6 separate regions of the Homo sapiens genome follow, and all the other regions are linked to region 4. Evidence: promoter capture Hi-C in 16 types of primary human blood cells and fetal thymus (Javierre and others, 2016). All regions are on one chromosome and are shown on one strand. Each heading gives the region's core, a stretch centred on a gene start or on the middle of the fragment in contact. The rest is flanking DNA. Distances are from core to core; before and after follow the strand shown.

Region 1 (3,071 bases), core at 71-2,570, 260 kb after region 4:
GCCACTGCATTCCAGTCTGGGCGACAGAGCGAGACTCCATCTCAAAAAACAAGACAAAAACGAAAAACAGGGCCAGTCATGGTGGCTCATGCCTCTCATGCCTGTTCTCAGCACTTTGGGAGGCCGAGGTGGGTGGATCATGAGGTCAGGAGTTCAAGACCAGCCTGGCCAAGATGGCAAAACCCCGTCTCTGCTAAAAATACAAAAATTAGCCGGGCGCGGTGGCAGGCGCCTGTAATCCCAGCTACTCGGGAGGCTGAGGCAGGAGAATCACTTGAACCTGGGAGGCAGGAGGTTGCAGTGAGCCGAGATTGCACCACTGCATTCCAGCCTGGGCAACAGAGTGAGACTCTGTCTCAAAAAAAAAAATAAATAAATAAATAAAACAAACAAAAGCTCATGTATCCCAGAACTTAAAGTATAATTTAAAAAAAAAAAAAAGGGAGGCGGAGGTTGCAGTGAGCCGAGGTCGCGCCACTGCACTCCAGCCTGGGTGACAGTGTGAGACACCATCTCAAAGAAAAAGAAAAAGAAGCACTTATTAAGTGGCTCTTTACTACCCTTCTTATGGTCTGGGAATACAAGAAAAGCACCAGGCATGGAGCTTACCCTTCTGAAGCTTGCATTCCAGTTGAAGAGAGAAGATGAATGGATAGAAATCTGAATTATTTATTTATTTAGCAAGTATTTCTTGCGAGGCAATTACTGCATAGCTCTGTGGGATACCTGAGACTGGGTCTATAATCTTGTTGAAAGATATTCTTAGGTAGCAACCTTCTGCAAGGATTGATTGATTAAGTGCCAGAATGAAGCTGAGCACAGTGGCTCACGCCTATAATCCCAGCACTTTGGGAGGCCAAGGCAGGTGGATCACCTGAGGTCAGGAGTTCGAGACCAGCCTGGCCAATGTGGCGAAACCCTGTTTCTACTAAAAATACAAAAATTAGCCTGGTGTGGTGGTGCACGCCTGTAATCCCACCTGCTTGGGAGGCTGAGGCAGGAGAATTGCCTGAACCTGGGAGGCGGAGGTTGCAGTGAGCCAAGATCGCGCCACTGCACTCCAGCCTGGGTAACAGAGGGAGACTCTGTCTCAAAAAAAAAAAAAAAAAAAAGTGCCAGAATGAGTGATCCATGATAGGAGGAGAGGAAATCTGGGTGGACTGGGCTGGGTGATGCAAGACAGTGTCCTGGTCAGGTGTGTCTGAAGCAGAGACCATAAGTTTAGATGTCTTTCTAGGCTGTGCAGCTGTCAGAGATGAGTGAGGCTGAGGCAGGAGTCTGGTGAATTGGGGAGTACTGGAGACTGTCTAGACATATTCCAATTTAGAAACATCAAACACTCTGAGGGCAGGCAACACAATTTGCAGTGTCTGGTGTGTATGTCTGTTTGACTCTGAAAACTGAATGTCTTCAACTCTGAATTTAGGGTAGGAATTGGATGACGTATGGAGCAAGAGGGCATTGTGGTTTGGGAGAATAGTGTAAACAAAAGCCTGAAGGTGGAAATGAGCCCTTCCTATGTGAAGAGTGATCAGAGAGGCAGAGAACTCCTTTTGGTGAGCCAGGAGAGTTAACATTGGCCGGGAAAGATGGGGCCAAAAAGTGGAGTTCCAAACAGGGTAAGGCTGGGAGGGTGGAGAGGGAAGACTTCCCGTCACCTCCTTTTTCCTCATTCTCGCAGCTGGCTGAGAGTGACTTTGCCTCTACCTTCCGGCTGCTCACAGTGTTTGCTTATGGGACATACGCTGACTACTTAGGTAACCAGAGGGGTTGGTGCTCTGGAGTAATGGAGATGGGAGAAGGGCAATTTCTGGAGGGACTCAGAAGAAATTCCTGGGATATCCCACTTAGATCCCTGGATGCATAGGGTCAGGGTCAAGACCTGAATTGGCATTGAAAGTGGGAGGGAAGGGAAGGAGGCTAGGGCTTCCCAGAAAACTGAAATCAGGATTCCTTACACTTTGTCGTTTTTCCCTAGCTGAAGCCCGGAATCTTCCTCCACTAACAGAGGCTCAGAAGAATAAGCTTCGACACCTCTCAGTTGTCACCCTGGCTGCTAAAGTAAAGGTGAGTGGCAGTCCCCCAGTCCTACGGTCTAGAGCATCCTTTTGTATGTCCTTGGGAGTCCACACTAGGACAGCCCTTGTCTAGACCGTGGCTGCTTCCTGCCCTCCCCTCCTCCAAGGTCTGTATATAAACTCCATTAGCAACTGTTTAGGCTGATAGTATTCTTAGTTTTCTGTGTTGTTTTTATTTTTTAATCAACTTAAGTTCTAAATAAACATCTTCTGTGGTTTTGGTCAAAATAGCAACTAGGATGTTGTTCAGGTGTCGTTCAACAATACCTTCTTCCCCACTGCTGGAAACAGGGCTCTCCTGATGAAGTGCTAGGCTTCTCTTTGTTAGGATAAAACATATATATTCTAGAAGTATCTCTGTATTCCTGTTAGGCTGTTTTTTGTCTAATATCACCACCCACCTCCCCAGCCTGCCCAGTCTGCAACCTCGCAATAGTTACTTGACTCTCAGTTGTCCTTGGGATTTAATTTAAACCAGGCTCTCTATTGAGAGATACCTCCAAAGGAATGCCCGTTGCAGGTAGGCAGAGTATAAATGATAAACAGTAACTCCACACCTCTCCCACTTCTGCTTACTCCCCTGTATCAAGCTGATCTTGACTAAGGACTGGGTGATACCCTGAGCTGTGGCTAAAGGAGTGACACCCAGGCAGATGTCATTTTCTCCTTCTGTGGTGTGTCAGGGGTGAGGGTGTTAGGGGAGCATTTTGTATTTTATTTAAGATTGTCCTTCTAATGATGCTGTTTTTGAAGTGGGAATACTTTTATTTATTTTGCTTTAGAACCAGCCTCTTAGAGGAAGTGATTTAGGAATGGGAGTGGAGGGCAGGTGGGCTAGGGCAGGGGGAAAAGGAGGGAAGATTTTTGGAAGCCCTTCTCTACTACGGAGCGTCACAAATCCTGGCCTGATCTCCGCGGCCCCAGTGTATCCCATATGCAGTGTTGCTGGAGGCTCTTGCCCTGCGTAATGTGCGGCAGCTGGAAGACCTTGTG
Region 2 (3,095 bases), core at 288-2,787, 470 kb after region 4:
TGAAGAGCCCAGAGCCTTGACTCAGCTGGAGGCGGTACCATGGGTGCTGGTGCCCCCTCCTGCCCCAAGGCTGGGCAGGACCGCTGCGCGCCAGTGGAGGCCTCGGTCTGGGCTCTGTGGCTTATGCCTGTGAGACGCGGGTGGATTGCTTGAGCCCAGGAGTTGGAAACCAGCTTGGGCAACATAGAGAAACCCCATCTTAAGACAAAATCAGCTGGGGGTTGTGGTGCACTTGTGGTCCCAGCTACTCAGGAGGCTGAGGTGGGAGGATCACTTGGGGGTCGAGGCTACAGTGAGTCATGATCGCACCACTGCACTCTAGCCTGGGTGACAGAGCAAGGCCCTATCTCAAAACAAACAAACAAAAGACACCCCAACCAACCAAACACTAGAGGCCTGGGACAGGCCCACCTCTGACGTGGTCAGTTCTAGGAATCTATTCAGACGGGTCTCACTGCTAGGAGCCACCAGAGTCCTCCGGAACAAGGGCTTCAGAGTCCTGAAACCTTTCCGTGGAATACTTTAAGAAACGGTTATGAGGCCAGGCGCGACGGCTCACGCTGGTAATCCCAGGACTTTGGGAGGCCGAGGCGGGCGGATCACGAGGTCAGGAGTTCCAGACCAGCTTGGCCAACATGGCAAAACCCTGTCTCTACTAAAAACAAAACATTAGCTGGGCATGGTGGCGCGCGCCTGTCGTCCCAGCGACTTGGGAGGTTGAGGCAGGAGAATCGCTTGAACCCGGGAGGTGGAGGTTATGGTGAGCCAAGATCCCCCCCAGCTGCACTCCAGCTTGGCGACAGAGCAAGACTCCGTCTCAAAAACAAAAAACAAAGCCGGTTATGAAGCGGGGGTGGGGTGGGCTAGTTTTAATAGGTCCAGGCGATTAGTACCTGGCATCCTTAACCACCTACAGTTTGAGAAGGGAGTGGGTGATAAAAGCCTGGAAGGGAAGGGAAATCGGGCCGGGCATTAGGCTCCATCGCTCATCAATAGACAAGGCCTTTAGGAAACTGCGACAACGGCTTTTGCTCTGGGCCTTTACTGCCGAATCCAGGTCTCCGGGCTTAACAACAACGAAGGGGCTGTGACTGGCTGCTTTCTCAACCAATCAGCACCGAACTCATTTGCATGGGCTGAGAACAAATGTTCGCGAACTCTAGAAATGAATGACTTAAGTAAGTTCCTTAGAATATTATTTTTCCTACTGAAAGTTACCACATGCGTCGTTGTTTATACAGTAATAGGAACAAGAAAAAAGTCACCTAAGCTCACCCTCATCAATTGTGGAGTTCCTTTATATCCCATCTTCTCTCCAAACACATACGCAGCAGTGTTACAGCTCTTTTAGAATTTGTCTAGTAGGCTTTCTGGCTTTTTACCGGAAAGCCCCTCTTATGATGTTTGTTGCCAATGATAGATTGTTTTCACTGTGCAAAAATTATGGGTAGTTTTGGTGGTCTTGATGCAGTTGTAAGCTTGGGGTATGAAGGTTTGGGCCACGCCTGGGCGCTTCCGGCTGCGCCGGATGCTGTTTCCTTTCCGCTCCCAGGGGCGTTGGGAACGGTTGTAGGACGTGGCTCTTTATTCGTGAGTTTTCCATTTACCTCCGCTGAACCTAGAGCTTCAGACGCCCTATGGCGTCCGCCTCGACCCAACCGGCGGCCTTGAGCGCTGAGCAAGCAAAGGGTGAGAATCGTCCTAGTCAAGGCATAGGCTGCTGGCCTGGGGTAGTCAAGGCATGGGCTGCTGGTCTGGGGAGGATGCGGGCGGAGGATGTGGGGCGACAAACCTGGCTACGTCCGCCGGGAAAATGGGGTAGGGGACGCCGGGTACCGTCCTTCTAAGTGGGGCGCTTGCCCCCAAGACTTGGGATCTTATTGGGTTACCTACAGCCTCAATCCACTAATTCCTTGCGCTCTCCGCTGGGCCCGCTGTCTGTTCTCCGACGCCTACCCGGGACGCCTCCCTGGGATGCTTCTGGCGCGCAGTGGTCCTCGCGGAGGTGATCCAGGCGTTCTCCGCCCCGGAGAATGCAGTGCGCATGGACGAGGCTCGGGATAACGCCTGCAACGACATGGGTAAGATGCTGCAATTCGTGCTGCCCGTGGCCACGCAGATCCAGCAGGAGGTTATCAAAGCCTATGGCTTCAGCTGCGACGGGGAAGGTGGGTCAGACGCGGGAAGGCGGGTCAGACGCGGGAAGGCGGGAGTTGGGTCGGGAGAGGGCGCCGGATCTGTGGGCCCATGAGCGGTTGTCCCCTTTCTCGCCACACGGCGGCAGCCACAATCTGACTAACATTCTTGGCACTCAGAGCCCAGGGTCTACCCTGAGCTTGTGCGTCCGAGTTGCGTTTTGTACAGTAGAGGTTCTGTATCCCTTACCCGAAATGGTTGGGACCGGAAGTGTTTCGGGTTTTTTCAGATTTCGGAATATTTACATATACATGGATATCTTGGGGGATGGGACCTAAATCTGAACACGAAATTGTTTTGTTTCATATACACGCACCTTATGCACATAGCCTGAGGGTAATTTTATATAATAGTCTGAATAATTTTGTGCATGAGACAAAGTTTTGACTGCGTTTTGACTACAGTCTCCCCCACCCCCCACTATGAAGTCAGGTGTGGAATTTTCCATTTTCGGCCTCACACTGGCACTCATAATTTCAGATTTTGGATTTTCTAATTAAGGATGGTCAACCTGTACTGTTAATCACATTATTATTCCATTTTGTGATGAGGAAGCAAACTCTAATGGTGCAGACTCTCGAGTAGCAGAGCTGGACTTAAATGCTGTTGTGCCACCTTTTAGTGACATGTCTGCATGACAGCAGTGGCTGCAGTCTCTCCAGGGTGTTTCAGCTAATTTTTGTTTGGGGGGGGTTGGTGGTTAAATTTTTGGTGAGATCCTGGTGTTCCCCAAAGGTGTTGACTGATTCAGCTCTGCTGCCTCATAGCCTTCCTGAGTTCCAGCTACAGACCTGGGGTCTCGTGTTCATTCTTGGGGTTCCAGTGACTAAACTGCTAAAATGGTTCACCTGAGAGCAAGAAGCACACTGCCTTGGGACATTTTCATTCACTGCATCCCA
Region 3 (2,991 bases), core at 492-2,991, 430 kb after region 4:
GAGACTAGCCTGGGCAACATAGCAAAACCTTGTCTCTACAAAAAATACAAAAAAATTAACTTGGCATGGTGGCGCACACCTGTAGTCCCAGGTACCCAGGAGGCTGAGACGGAAGGACTGCTTGAGCCCAGGAGGTGGACGTTGCAGTGAGCTATGATTGCTCCACCGCACTCCATCCTGGGCGACAGAGGGAAACTCTATTTCAAAACAAAAATAAAAACAAAATAACAAAAGTGTATGTTCAAGGACACCTTCCTAACCCTTACATCACAACTTTTCTTCCCATCTAATGTGTCTTCCTCTTTCTTCTTGGCCAAGGAAACTCATATCCATTTCTTTTGACTACATCAAACCACATGGATTTTTCCCTTCTCCACACTCCAACAATACAATAACTTTCATTTGTATAGCACATCTCACTCTTCAGAGTGTTCATATTTATTATTTCTTTTTCCTCACAGCAACCCCAGTACCAAGGACACAGGCCAGGGGTGGGGAGGAGCAGGAAAATGTTTACTAAGGGTCAACTAAGTGCAAGGCGATTTACCCACATTATCTCTTTTAATCCCTTAACAATCCTTACAGGTGGACGTTTTAATAATCCCCATTTCACGACTGTGGAAATTAGACCTCAGTAAGATTTCATAACCTGCTGAAGGACACACAGGTATTAAGTAGTAGAGATGGGTTTTGAAGCTGGTGTCTCTGACTTTAAAGTCCCTACTGGTTCCATGACACCAAGTAAACAGATTTGCCTATTAACCACATTCCTCCAAGCTGCCCTGGGCAGGAGGTAATATAATACTTCCTGATTTCTTGCCCACCACATCTTCCACCAGACCACTTTGCCGTTATATAAAGTCTGTGGGCACAATTTAACAATGAATCACATGCCATCTTACCTGGTTACCTCATTGTTTCATTTACATTAGATTCCACAACAAGATTGGTAACATCCCCCTTTCCCCAGGCAGGAATTGTGTCATCTTAACCTCCCTGAGCCTCAGTATCCTCTTCTTTCAAATGTCTATCTTACAGGACTGTTGCAGAGATTAAATATCAGTTGTAAAGATGTTTGACATAATGTCTCGCACAAACTCTCCAGAAATATTTATTGCATCTCAACATCTTTTTCATCTCCTTCAACATGTCAGACAGGCCTGAGTGCCTGGGTTTGGCTATGCCAGTTCCTGTTGATTACTGATATAACAACGTTGGATCAGGAGTATTTTAGTGGGCAGATGTTGAATTTTCTGCCTTCCACCCACTAAAAGGTTTGCATCAAACCAGTCCAGGATAACTCATACTGGATCCCTGTCAGTTGATATAGTTAAGCTAATTCTACAGATAACAAAGAGTCTTGGGTACGTTTAGCTAGCAAATGCAGATCTGCCAAGACTCCAACCCAGTTCTTAAGGTATCTGGGTCTGGACTCCTTCCGCTCCACCAAGCCACCTTCCAAAGGTCTACCTGAAAATAACTAATGAGCAGAAACTATAGGGGGAAGGGGAAAAGACCCCTTATCTTGGTGTTTCTTGCTTTTCCTCGCAGCCCCGCCCTTTTTGCTTCGAAGGACGAGTTTTTCCTGAATTCACAATACTTTTGCATTGAAGATGTCCGGTCCCTTTAAGGTCTTGGGTGACGTAATGACTAGCCCCGCCCCCTCTCTTCTCGCTTCTCAGCCCTGCCCACTTCTTTTTGTCCTCAGCCAATTAGCGGCCCAACGCCCCTTCCGCGCCTCATCCGGGTTCCCGGGACGGGAAAGTGGCGTGGTAACCAGGCAACTACTGATCAATCCCCTCCCCGGCTGATTTGCGCATCAGGTAGTCGCCGCTCTACTCTCAACGGTGGCGAGCTGCAGTTGCCAAGTGCCCCGTCCCCGTTGCCATAACAGCAGTACACAACCCCTCCTTCCCCTCGCCCGCTTGCTAAACAGTCCTTCCCTCTCGGGACCAAGGGCCTCTCCAGAACTGCTTCTGATTGAGCAGAAACAGGGTCTGAGCCCCTTTGCTAAGGCGAATTGAGTGGGAGGGTTGGAGACTGCGCTTTAGGCTGGTGTACCAGAGGGCCCAAGGAAATTGGCCCAGTGGGGAGGGAAAAGTAGAAGAAATGAATGGAGCAGGGATTACGGATGGCGCAATGGGAGCTGAGAGGAGAGGAGGAGGAATTGGTAGGGAAGATTGGAGAGCATGGCTTAAGGGGGAGGTGGGAAGAATGGGGGAGAGGGAAGCCCAGGAAATAGGGACACCCGGCTGCTGGAGGAGAGCTGGAGTCACTGTGAAGGACAGGAAAGGCCTGGGGGTGTGGGTGACATCCTGAAGGGAGGGGGTCCTCAGTGGAAAGTGTGAAGTGGGAGTTGAGAATCAAAATGAGATGTTCACAGGGATAAGGAAAGAAGCCTAGAGTTGGTGGGTCAGAAGTCATGGGGGTGATGGGAGTGGCACGTGTCAATGACGATGAAGGAGCTGAAGGCTGGCAGAAGCTGATGAGACCTTCTTTTTCAGGAGGAGGACTGAGCTTATCTGACTCCAGAGCTTTCAGGAGGGAAGAAAGATGTCAGATGAAGATGATCTAGAAGACTCTGAGCCAGACCAGGATGATTCTGAGAAAGAAGAGGACGAGAAGGAGACAGAGGAGGGGGAGGACTACAGAAAAGAGGGGGAAGAGTTCCCTGAGGAAGTGAGAGCCTGGACAAGGAGGGGTCCTAGGGCTGAAGGAGGGGGTTGGGCAGGGGAGAGACACCTTACTCCACTTCTACCTGCAGTGGCTGCCCACCCCCCTCACGGAGGACATGATGAAGGAAGGGCTTTCTCTGCTCTGTAAGACAGGCAATGGGCTGGCTCATGCTTATGTCAAGCTGGAGGTTAAAGAGAGGTGCGTTTTGGGGGGACCAGATGAGGACTGTGAGACTGTAGGGCCCCTATCTCCTTTCCCACTGTCATTCCTGGGTGTTCTGGTTGAGAGTTTGACTCTTCTCATGCCTAGTGGAAA
Region 4 (3,092 bases), core at 137-2,636:
GTCCAGGATGGTAGCACCAATGACAAGATTAAGGTCAGAGACCTCGTGATGCCCCGCTAGCCACCACGATTTTTCTGTTGCCTTCTGTTCATCCCACGTAGATACTATCTGGAAGCCCCCTCCCCAAAATGAAAACAACTGGAATTCTACGGCTTGCCCAAAATGCATAGAACACTCATATCTGGTTAAAACCATAGAAATCAAAAAGAAAAAGTGAAATGGCTATGAAGTATTTGCAAGGCCAATTTCACTTACTACTTGTTGGGAGTTGGAAACACTCAACAGTAAAATATCTAGGGATAATTACAACCCTTATGTAACACAAGTAAATCTTTCCCTTTTTTGTCACTTAGAGAAGCAACATAAATACATCTAGGACCAGGCCAGGGTAGTAATCAGAAAGAAAAATCTGTATTAGACATATTGAGGTCTTGACAGAGAAGTACTTCGTTTGTTTAGCCGTAGTTTTCCCTCAAGATCATGCGAAGGGGGTGATGTTGAAGACTGCTGGAGACTAAACTGTGTGTGTTGGAGGAAAGGGGGAAAGCTCAGCTCTCCCTATTTCTCCTCCAACTATTTGGTAAGACTCGGTGATAGAAAAACATCTCCTATACGAATGGCCTTGGTATGAACAGCCGCTTGGGATGACAGGCCACTATCCCACTACCCCTTGAGTCTTTCTGAGCTGCTCACCTGGTGCCAGAGAACTGGCAGATAAGTTTCTGCAGCTTTGCTCACTGCCATGAGGGGGGCTAGACATCACACTTTGGGTGAGGGGTAAACAAATCCAGAGATTGTAGGGCAACATAAGTTACCAACTGGCAGTTGCACCCATGACTGTCTTTCCTGAGGCGCTGAGTAGTGATTTAGCCAGATGACAGAAATACCTTTCGAGTCCCCTGCCCAGTTGTCTCCATCCACCACCCCCAGCCCCCGCCCTCTCCGAGTCTCCACTATACCAAAACCAGAATGAGGCGCCACTCAGACGAGAGGAGAGGGTGCAATGATTGTGGGACCCCTGCGCCCCTGCCCCGCCCGTGGGGTGCTAGCTGTGGCTGGTGCGAGAATGGGGTGCTGGCCCCCCTCCCTGGGGGTGGCCCGGTCCGGAAGCGGCGCGCGGTGGTAGTTCCCCGCGTTGCTGCAGCTGCTGCATTGCGCCATTTTCCGTCCCGCAGAATCGGGAGCTTGGGGCGAGAGTTGTCAAGGAGGTGCCGAGCCCCCACACCAGAGTCAACTCACATTTTTCTGACAGAGAGAGTGAGGGTCTGTTCCTCTCCGGAGGCTGCGGCGAGACACCCGGTGAGGGACGCTGCGGCTGAAGTGGACGGAACTGCCAAGCTCCGCCTCGCGCCGACTACCCCGCGGTCTAGCTGCGCTGGAACTTACTGCAGCTGCCGCGCCGGCCTCCGCCTTTATTAGTGCTGACCACGCCTCCCGGATAACGGTGACAACCCCGCGGCCCAATCCATGCCCAGGACGGTCGCCCAGCGCTACAGGCCTAGCCCGCCCCGCCCCTGCCAATTGCCAGTCACAACTCTCCTCTCATCCGACTCCGGAAAGGAGCGGTTGCTGTGAGGATCCTTCAGTGATCAATGCGACCATAGTTTGCGCTCCAGTCTGGCGGAGGGACGGGGCGGGGTGGAGATGAGGTCTGTCCCTTCGGAGGGCGCTTCAGCAGTTTGTTAGGCATTTGTGGTGCCTCCCAACCAATCGCTAGGCAGTTACTGAAGACCGTGCCCGCCCCTGCCCCACCCCGCGCCGGGACTCGCGCATTCAGCTGGAGGCGGCGGCTTCCTGGTGCGCGCCCAGCCCTGGTGCCCTGCTCTGGCCCTCGCTCCGCACCACCGCCCCGCCTCTAACTAACGCTCTGAGAGGGTGCAGGAGCCTCGAGACACAGCCACAAGCTCCTGGTGCCAGATACCGGATGCGGGGTTCCGTCCCACCAAAGCAAGCACGAAGCTTTCGTTCATTCGTTTCTTTCAACATAGCCTTCCTAAATTGAACTCCCTCCCAAACCTGCTCCAGTCGAGGTTACCACATCGACTCAGTTGCCCAGACCAGAAACGTGGAAACCATCCTAGATTTCCTCCCCTTCACCTTTACCTCTCCCCCAGTAATCTGCCAAATCGAGTTGATTTTTCCTTCTTGGCATTCCAGTGATTATCTCCCCTCTGCTCACTATTATCCCTTTCCTGGACTCCATCAGTTGGAAAATTCACCATTATTTTATGTCCCGCTAAGAAAAAAGGTTACAAGGCCGGGCGCAGTGGCTCACACCTGTAATCCCAGCACTTTGGGAGGCCGAGTCAGGCAGATTACCTGAGATCAGGAGTTCGAGACCAGCCTGGCCAACATGGCGAAACCTCTGTCTCTACTAAAAATACAAAACAGCCAGGCATGGTGGCGGGCGCCTGTAATCCCAGCTACTCGTGAGGCTGAGATAAGAGAATCGCTTGAAGCCGGGAGCCGACGGTTGCAGTGAGCCGAGATCACGCCACTGCACTCCAGCCTGGGCAACAGAGCAAGACCCTGTTTCAAAAAAAAAAAGAAAAAAGGTTGCAAATTATCTGTGACAAATGCTTTCCTTACCACTTAGCATTTTTGTTTTACATGTATTGAAAATATGGGTTTATATACATACCGATTTCTATATTTCACTCTTGTGCATGCATAAAAAGGGAAATAGAAAACAATAACATGGTAACTATCCCTAAAACTTCACAGAGACTGATTGTTAATGATTCACTTTTTTGACTCAGTCTTGGATGTCCACTAATTTCCACGCAATGTAGTCCTCTGTGCATTTCATAAGGGCTTTGGTGATGCAGCATTTCCTAAGAGTGTTCCTCTCCAGGCTCTAGAGTTTTCTTCCAAGCCTCAGACACCCATTTGGCAAGCTTTGATGCTCATGAGCAGGTATGACAAATATAGTTTGACTGCTGTCTGACTAATAGCTAAAGTGAAACATCCCAATTAGAAGATATTGAAATGCAAAAAAACAAACAAACAAGCACACACAAAAAACCCAAGTGCCTCCTAAGATCAATGATACATCATTCTGCTTCCAGTCTTGCCATCCTTTACATCTATTC
Region 5 (2,894 bases), core at 15-2,514, 420 kb before region 4:
GTGATCCGCCCACCTCGGCCTCCCTAAGTGTTGGGATTACAGGCGTGAGCCACTGTGCCTGGCCAATCAGGATGTTTCTAACTGGTCTTCCCTAGTAGACTATCAGGTACTGTGTCTGGTGACTGGATTTCCCTCTGTCGCCCGGGCTAGAATGCAGTGGCGCGATCACAGTTCACTGCAGCCTTGGCTTCCTGGGCTCAAGCAATCTTCCCACCTCAGTATTTCAAGTGGCTGGGTCTACAGGTATGCACCACCATGGCCAACTATTTTTTTTTCTTTGTATTTAGGGACAGGGCCTCACTATGTTGCCCAGGCTGCTCTCAAACTCCCAGGCTCAAGCATTCCTCCCACTTCCACCTCCCAAAGTGCTGGGGATTACAGATGTGAGCCACTGCCCCAGCCTGGCTCATCTTTAGACCACCAATTCTTAGCCAGAACTAAGACAGAACAGGTGACAGGTAAGTGTTTGCTCAACAAATGTCCTGTTGTAAATTTCTTCCACGCTCATGGCAACCCTGTTGAAACCGACTGTCACAGAAGGCCTAGGCAAAGAGCTGCAGGAAGCAAGCATGATTTGGAGCTATTTTGGGGAAGTGCATGAAGCAGGTCAGGGTAGCAATGCCCCATGGAGGCAGCGCTGCAGTGGTCCATGTTCTTCCTGCTCAAATGCTTCAGCTTGAGAATACTGAAAGCAGGCTGGAAAGGAGGGTGACAGGCAGATCTCCCTTTTCCTGTTCCAGAAAAGGAAAACTGAGACCTAAAGCCCAGAAATGGGGGCCAACACATAACAGTTGGCAATAAAACTCAAGAACTCCTACTGCCAGCCAGGAATCCCAGTTCCCTGTGTAGTAAGGAAGTCAGAAGACCTGGACCAAATCCCAGCTCCGCTTCTGACTTGCTGTACAGTTCTGGACAAGTCACTTCCTTCCTTGGGCCCCAGTTTACCCATCCATGAAGTAAAGGACTTGGGGGTCCCGTTTTCCTCCCCAGCTCTGCTGTTTTAGAGGTCCCTGACACTGCTGCCTGCACTTACCACATGGTGTGATGGTCTGAGAAGATGTCTTCTGGCTGGAAGATCTCACCGTCATAGTAACAGGGGCACTGGGCCTTGGGCACGCAGTCCCCCCTCTCATCCATGTAGAGCCCTGGGGGGCAGAAGCAGCCCTCCAGGCAGGCCTCATTGCATTCCTCATCCGGGTAAGAGAGAGAGCGGCAGGTCAGGTTGCAGGGGGTCCCGCACTGCAGGTACACCTGGCCTTTCGGGCAGTTCAGCTCTAGAAGAGAGAGGAGAAGTAAGGCCTCAGCGGGAATGTTGGACAGCAAGGACTGTGGTTCTAGGACTTGCCACCCCTTGTAGCTGTGACCCCCAATTATTTAATTAAAATTTTTATTGAGATAATTGTAGACTTGCTTGCAATTACAAGAAGTAATGCAGAAAGATCCCATGTACCCTTTACCCAGTTTTCCCCAAGTGACCCCCAATTATATCTGTATGGTCATCAACTTCCTTTCCCACTATGAGCAAATGTGTATTTTTCAGCATGCAGATATGTATTATAATTATGGGGGCACACATTTTCTCCTTTCCTCAACCACAGGGAATGTGCATTAGTCATCTCTGAATTCTCAAAGCCTAGGATGTAGTAGAAATCCTGGCAGGTTTTGAAGCTGTGAATATTAAAAAGTACTGGGAATGACGGGCAAGGGCATACCCCGTGACAACAATGAGTACCATTTATGGAGCACCTACTGAATGCCTTGCTCTTACGTGGGCTCTATGCCTCATGCCGAGTTAGCTCTCATCACCCCCTTTCAAGAAACTTAGGCTGAGTGACTTGTTAGGGGTATACCTCACAGGAAGAAGCAGAGGAAGGATTTGAACTCAGCTCTCTGCAGCCCTAAAGCTCATGCTCATAACCCTTACTCTCTAGAAAGAAAACAGTCCCTTTGAGGACATGCTGGTCCCAAAGAGGAGGGACACTCATGCCTACCACAGCGAAATGGGCTGCACCCATCTGCCCACAGCCCTCACCCTCCCTAGCCTCCCACAGAAAAATACTGCAAGAGACACAAGCCAGAAGGAAGTGTAGCAAAGTGGCAACGCAGCTAAGGGAACGGGCTCTGTATCCCAAATACCTGGGTTCACGCCCAGGTCCACCACTAGCTGGCTGTGTGATCTTGGGCAGTATCCTCACTGGATGGAATAACAGTATCCACCCAGTCTTTGTGAAGGTTGAATGAGCTAACACATTTAGAAGAATGTCTGGCATGTGGAGAATGTTCACTGCTAATAATGTTCACTGATAATAATTATTATTCTTATTGCTAAGGAAACAGCCCCAGCTCAGCGGTCCCAAGAAGGAAGGAGTGTTCCAGAGAAAGGCCTAGGCCTCAGAAGCTCTGGCATTCTGGTGACAAAATTCCTTATGGGCAGGGTAGAGGACAGGGAAGGTGTGGGGAGCATTCTGCCCTTTCAAAATGCCTTCCCTGTGCAGACCAGCTGCTGCCCAAGAAATGAGAACCTCACCCTGGGCATGCTTCTTCTGAGACCATCACAATCCTTCCCCTCTCTGTTCAAATCCATTGCTCCAGCAGAAACCTACTGGCAGGGCATTTCACAGATGTTATAAAAGTAAGCCTTGGCCGTGAGCCTGAACAATGGAGTGGGGAGCCTCTGGAGAGACCCTGCAGCCTCCCGCTCCTACAACCACCCTGAACTTGGTGTTTGAAGGTAGCTGGGAAGGGAGGGCCTCTTTAATCCTATTAGACATTGATTTTTCTCTGCAAGAATGGAAAGGTTGGATTATTGGATGAATACTGAGGGAGTGTAGGTTAAGACAGGATGTGTTAGACAATAAAGATGGAGATGTCTTTCAACCACCTGAGCCTACAAT
Region 6 (3,371 bases), core at 248-2,747, 270 kb before region 4:
TAAAGTAACACATATTTACTATTTCACAATTCTAGAGGTCTGAAATCTAAAATGGGTGGGCAGGGCTGTGTTGGATCCCTCTGGCAGCTGCAGGGGAGAATTCGTTTCTTCGCCTTCTCCAGCTTCTAGAGGCTGTCCTTGTTCCCCAACACACAGCTGTGCATCACTGCGACCTCTGCTTCTGTCGTCACATCTCCTTCCCTGGCTTTGACACTTCCACCTGTCTCTTATAAGAACCCTTTGGATTCCACTGGGCCCACTGGGATGGTCCAGGCTATGCCATGGAAAGTAACACATTCACAGTTTTGGGGATTGGAACGTGGGCCTATTTGGAGGGCCGTTAGAAGTGGAAACGGGCCAGGCACGGTGGCGCACGCCTGTAATCCCAGCACTTTGGGAGGCTGAGGTGGGCGGATCACCTGGGGCCAGGAGTTCAAGACCAGCCTGACCAACAGGAGGAAACCCCATCTCTACTAAAAATATAAAAAATATAAAAAATATAAAAAACACGGTGGCTTACGCCTGTAATCCCAGCACTTTGGGAGGCTGAGGTGGGTAGATAACGAATTCAGGAGTTCAAGACCAGCCTGGCCAATATGGTGAAACCCCGTCTCTACTAAAAATACAAAAATTAGCTGGGCATGGTGGTGTGCGCCTGTAGTCCCAGCTACTTGGGAGGCTGAGGCAGAAGAATCACTTGAACCCGGGAGGCAGAGGTTGCAGTGAGCCAAGATCGTGCCACTGCACTCCAGCCTGGGTGACAAAGCGAGACTCCGTCTAAAAAAAAAAAAATTATTAGCCGGGCATGGCAGCGCACACCTGTAATTCAATCTGCTTGGGAGGCTGAGGCAAGAGAGTCTCTTGAGCCCAGGGATGGAGGTTGTAGTGAGCCGAGATTGAGCCACTGCACTCCAGCCTGGGCAACAGAGCGAGACTTGGTCTCAAAAAAAAAAAATCTGCAGGCTCTTGGATATCAGGACTTGCATTTACAGAGAGATGAGTTAAACAGAGAAAATGGTGGAAGGCACAAAAGGGGATGAGTGCTCCAGGAGAGGTCTGAGAGAGAAGGGCAGGGGCCTGAGAAAGCCCCACGCCCAGCCGTCATTCTGCAGATGTTTGCAGAGGGCCTGCTCTGGGCCAGGAAGGGACCGGGAGCTAGGGAGAGCACAGAAATTAATCAAATGCAAGTGCACCCTCGAGGAGCTCACTACCAAGAAGTGGACACATAAAGGAAGATGATGATGACCAGAGAATCACACATGCGAGACTCAAGGTAATCCACGGAGAAAAAGACTGGAGTGCTCCAGGAAGGCTTCATAAGGTGGTGTATTTGAGCTTAGAAAGAGGAACAGGAGAGAAGCTTCTAGAAGTGAAGGAGGTGAATCAAGATGGCCACTGGTGTGGTGGCTGGAAGGGCCTTGGTGGCCTGTGAGAGCGAGGGTCCTACCTGTTGCCTTACAAAGCCATTGCCCACAGCTGGAGGGACCTGGGGCATGGGTGTGACGGCTCATTAGGTCACCTGGCCTCTGCGTGTTCAAATCTTACCACCAGGGGGGGCACAAGAGCCAAAGTGGACCCTGAGCCTGAGCTGGGGTTTCTTTCCCAGAGACAGGACGCCTTGAGGGAAGGGAGGAAAAGCTTTCCCACTCCAGCACCACAAAGCCTGGAAGGCCTGGCTGCTTCCATGTGATTTCTGACTCAGGGGCTTACCCATATTTTCCTCTTCCGGTTAAGGCAAAACATAATTTTTCCATCGCTCACCTTCCTGGTTGCCTGTAGCACTAACTGTCTGTAACAAATGCACTTTGGCCCAGGGGTTTATTGTGACACAGAATGTCAGGAGGAATGAAAGACACCTCCTGATCCAAAATGCTGTGAACCAAAAAGTATCTGAGACAGGTCTCAATCAATTTAGAAAGTTTATTTTGCCAAGGTTACAGATGGGCGCCCAGGAGGCAGATCTGTGCCTTCTGCAAAGATGATTTTGAGGGCTTCAATATTTAAAAGGCGGCTGGTGGGGAAAGAGGAAGAAAGTTTTTTTAAGGTGTGGGTAGGTAAGAAACAAACGGTTGCATTCTTTTGAGTCACTGATCATCCTCTCACTGAATGCACAATTTACATGGCAGAGGAGGGTAGAGAAATAAGTCACTTATGCCTTGTCTAGCACAGCGAATCTTCATTTTTACATTGGAGGAAGCAATCAGATATGCATTTGTCTCAGGTGAGCAGAGGGATGACTTTGAGTTCTGTCCTTTTTTCTGTACCTGTGAAGATATGCTATCAATTTACATTGTCATGGTGAAATTCAACAGAACTGTTTTAGGGCAAATATCATAGGGTCCACCAGAAATTTCCTCATGGGCAAATTGTGAAAGAAGTGCATAGCTGCTTTTTTTTTTTTTTTTTTTTTTGAGACGGAGTCTGGCTGTGTCCCCCAGGCTGGAGGGCAGTGGCGCGATCTCGGCTCACTGCAAGCTCTGCCTCCCGGGTTCACGCCATTCTCCTGCCTCAGCCTCCTGAGTAGCTGGGACTACAGGCGCCCGCCGCCACGCCCGGCTAATTTTTTTGTATTTTTAGTAGAGACGAGGTTTCACCGTGTTAGCCAGGATGGTCTTGATCTCCTGACCTCATGATCCTCCCGCGTCGGCCTCCTAAAGTGCTTGGATCACAGGTGTGAGTCACAGCGCCCAACAAGAAGTGCATAGCTTTTTTTGTTTTTTCTTTTTGAGACGGAGTCTCACTCTGTCGCCAGGCTAGAGTGCTGTGGCGCGATCTCGGCTCACTGCAACCTCCAACTCCCTGGTTCAAGGGATTCTCCTGCCTCTGCCTCCCGAGTAGCTGGGATTATAGGTATGCGCCACCATGCCTGGCTAATTTTTGTATTTTTAGTAGAGATGCGGTTTCACTATGTTGGCCAGGATGGTCTCGATCTCCTCACCTCGTGATCCGCCCACCTTGGCCTCCCAAAGTGCTGGGATTACAGGCGTGAGCCACTGCGCCCGGCCGAGAAGTGCATAGCTTTTTAAAAAATCTTTGTAGCTATCTTATTTAGGAATGGGAGGCAGGTTTGCCTGTGGCAGTTCCCAGCTTGATTTTTTCCTTTGGCTTATTGATTTTGGGGTCCTAAGATTTATTTTCCTTTCACAATACTCTTGTACAGGTGAGGAGACTGAGGCCCAGAGAGGAGGCTGCCTGCCTAACATAGACCAAAGGGTCAGAACCAAGAGTAGAACTCAGACCCCCTCACTTCAGGCCCAATGCTCTCATCACATAAAAAGGATGCCTTGATTATACGAATGTGGCACTGAACTATATAGGCTGACCCCAATTCTTTCTTCAGTGTAAACAATAATAGGAATAGGAGCAACAGG

What was found. Contacts are between HindIII fragments. The CHiCAGO score rates a contact against its expected background, and 5 or more counts as called.
Region 1: a contact is called between a fragment that was not itself captured here and the fragment with the promoter of VAMP1 in region 4, in 3 of 17 cell types (total CD8 T cells, activated CD4 T cells and naive CD8 T cells). The highest score is 6.2, in total CD8 T cells.
Region 2: the fragment with the promoter of C12orf57 here is called in contact with the fragment with the promoter of VAMP1 in region 4 in 1 of 17 cell types (activated CD4 T cells); the score reaches 5.1 in activated CD4 T cells.
Region 3: a contact is called between the fragment with the promoter of LRRC23 here and the fragment with the promoter of VAMP1 in region 4, in 1 of 17 cell types (activated CD4 T cells). The highest score is 6.3, in activated CD4 T cells.
Region 5: a contact is called between a fragment that was not itself captured here and the fragment with the promoter of VAMP1 in region 4, in 3 of 17 cell types (M0 macrophages, M2 macrophages and naive CD8 T cells). The highest score is 6.1, in M0 macrophages.
Region 6: a contact is called between a fragment that was not itself captured here and the fragment with the promoter of VAMP1 in region 4, in 6 of 17 cell types (total B cells, naive B cells, naive CD8 T cells and 3 more). The highest score is 10.2, in total B cells.

The regions. Positions count from the first base shown.
Region 1 is chr12:6,726,245-6,729,315 of GRCh38, forward strand. COPS7A (COP9 signalosome subunit 7A) reads left to right here. Exons shown (of 8, transcript NM_001164094.2): 3 at 1,682-1,757; 4 at 1,979-2,067; 5 at 3,003-3,071. Among named protein-coding and RNA genes, the nearest start is that of COPS7A, 3.7 kb to the left of the region's middle. The HindIII fragment of the contact is 1,406 bases long and covers 618-2,023 here.
Region 2 is chr12:6,942,485-6,945,579 of GRCh38, forward strand. It overlaps C12orf57 (chromosome 12 open reading frame 57), which reads left to right and starts at 1,538. Exons shown (of 3, transcript NM_138425.4): 1 at 1,538-1,689; 2 at 1,992-2,168. The coding sequence starts at 1,638. It overlaps RNU7-1 (RNA, U7 small nuclear 1), which reads left to right and starts at 1,332; the gene lies at 1,332-1,394. RefSeq lists enhancers at 1,346-1,925, 1,425-1,614, 1,915-2,034, 1,926-2,505, 2,045-2,194 and 1 more and a silencer at 1,828-2,087. The HindIII fragment of the contact is 10,579 bases long and covers 1,477-3,095 here.
Region 3 is chr12:6,903,081-6,906,071 of GRCh38, forward strand. It overlaps LRRC23 (leucine rich repeat containing 23), which reads left to right and starts at 1,742. Exons shown (of 8, transcript NM_001135217.2): 1 at 1,742-1,995; 2 at 2,505-2,679; 3 at 2,765-2,874. The coding sequence starts at 2,554. The HindIII fragment of the contact is 20,869 bases long and covers 1-2,991 here.
Region 4 is chr12:6,469,291-6,472,382 of GRCh38, forward strand. It overlaps VAMP1 (vesicle associated membrane protein 1), which reads right to left and starts at 1,387. Exons shown (of 5, transcript NM_014231.5): 1 at 1,240-1,387. The coding sequence starts at 1,241. It also overlaps a transcript of TAPBPL not described here. RefSeq lists silencers at 869-918, 1,419-1,468, 1,679-1,938. The HindIII fragment of the contact is 5,218 bases long and covers 1-1,957 here.
Region 5 is chr12:6,051,510-6,054,403 of GRCh38, forward strand. It overlaps VWF (von Willebrand factor), which reads right to left. Exons shown (of 52, transcript NM_000552.5): 16 at 1,034-1,274. Among named protein-coding and RNA genes, the nearest start is that of SNORA120, 13 kb to the left of the region's middle. The HindIII fragment of the contact is 7,611 bases long and covers 1-2,894 here.
Region 6 is chr12:6,194,300-6,197,670 of GRCh38, forward strand. No RefSeq gene overlaps it. Among named protein-coding and RNA genes, the nearest start is that of CD9, 4.4 kb to the right of the region's middle. The HindIII fragment of the contact is 278 bases long and covers 1,359-1,636 here.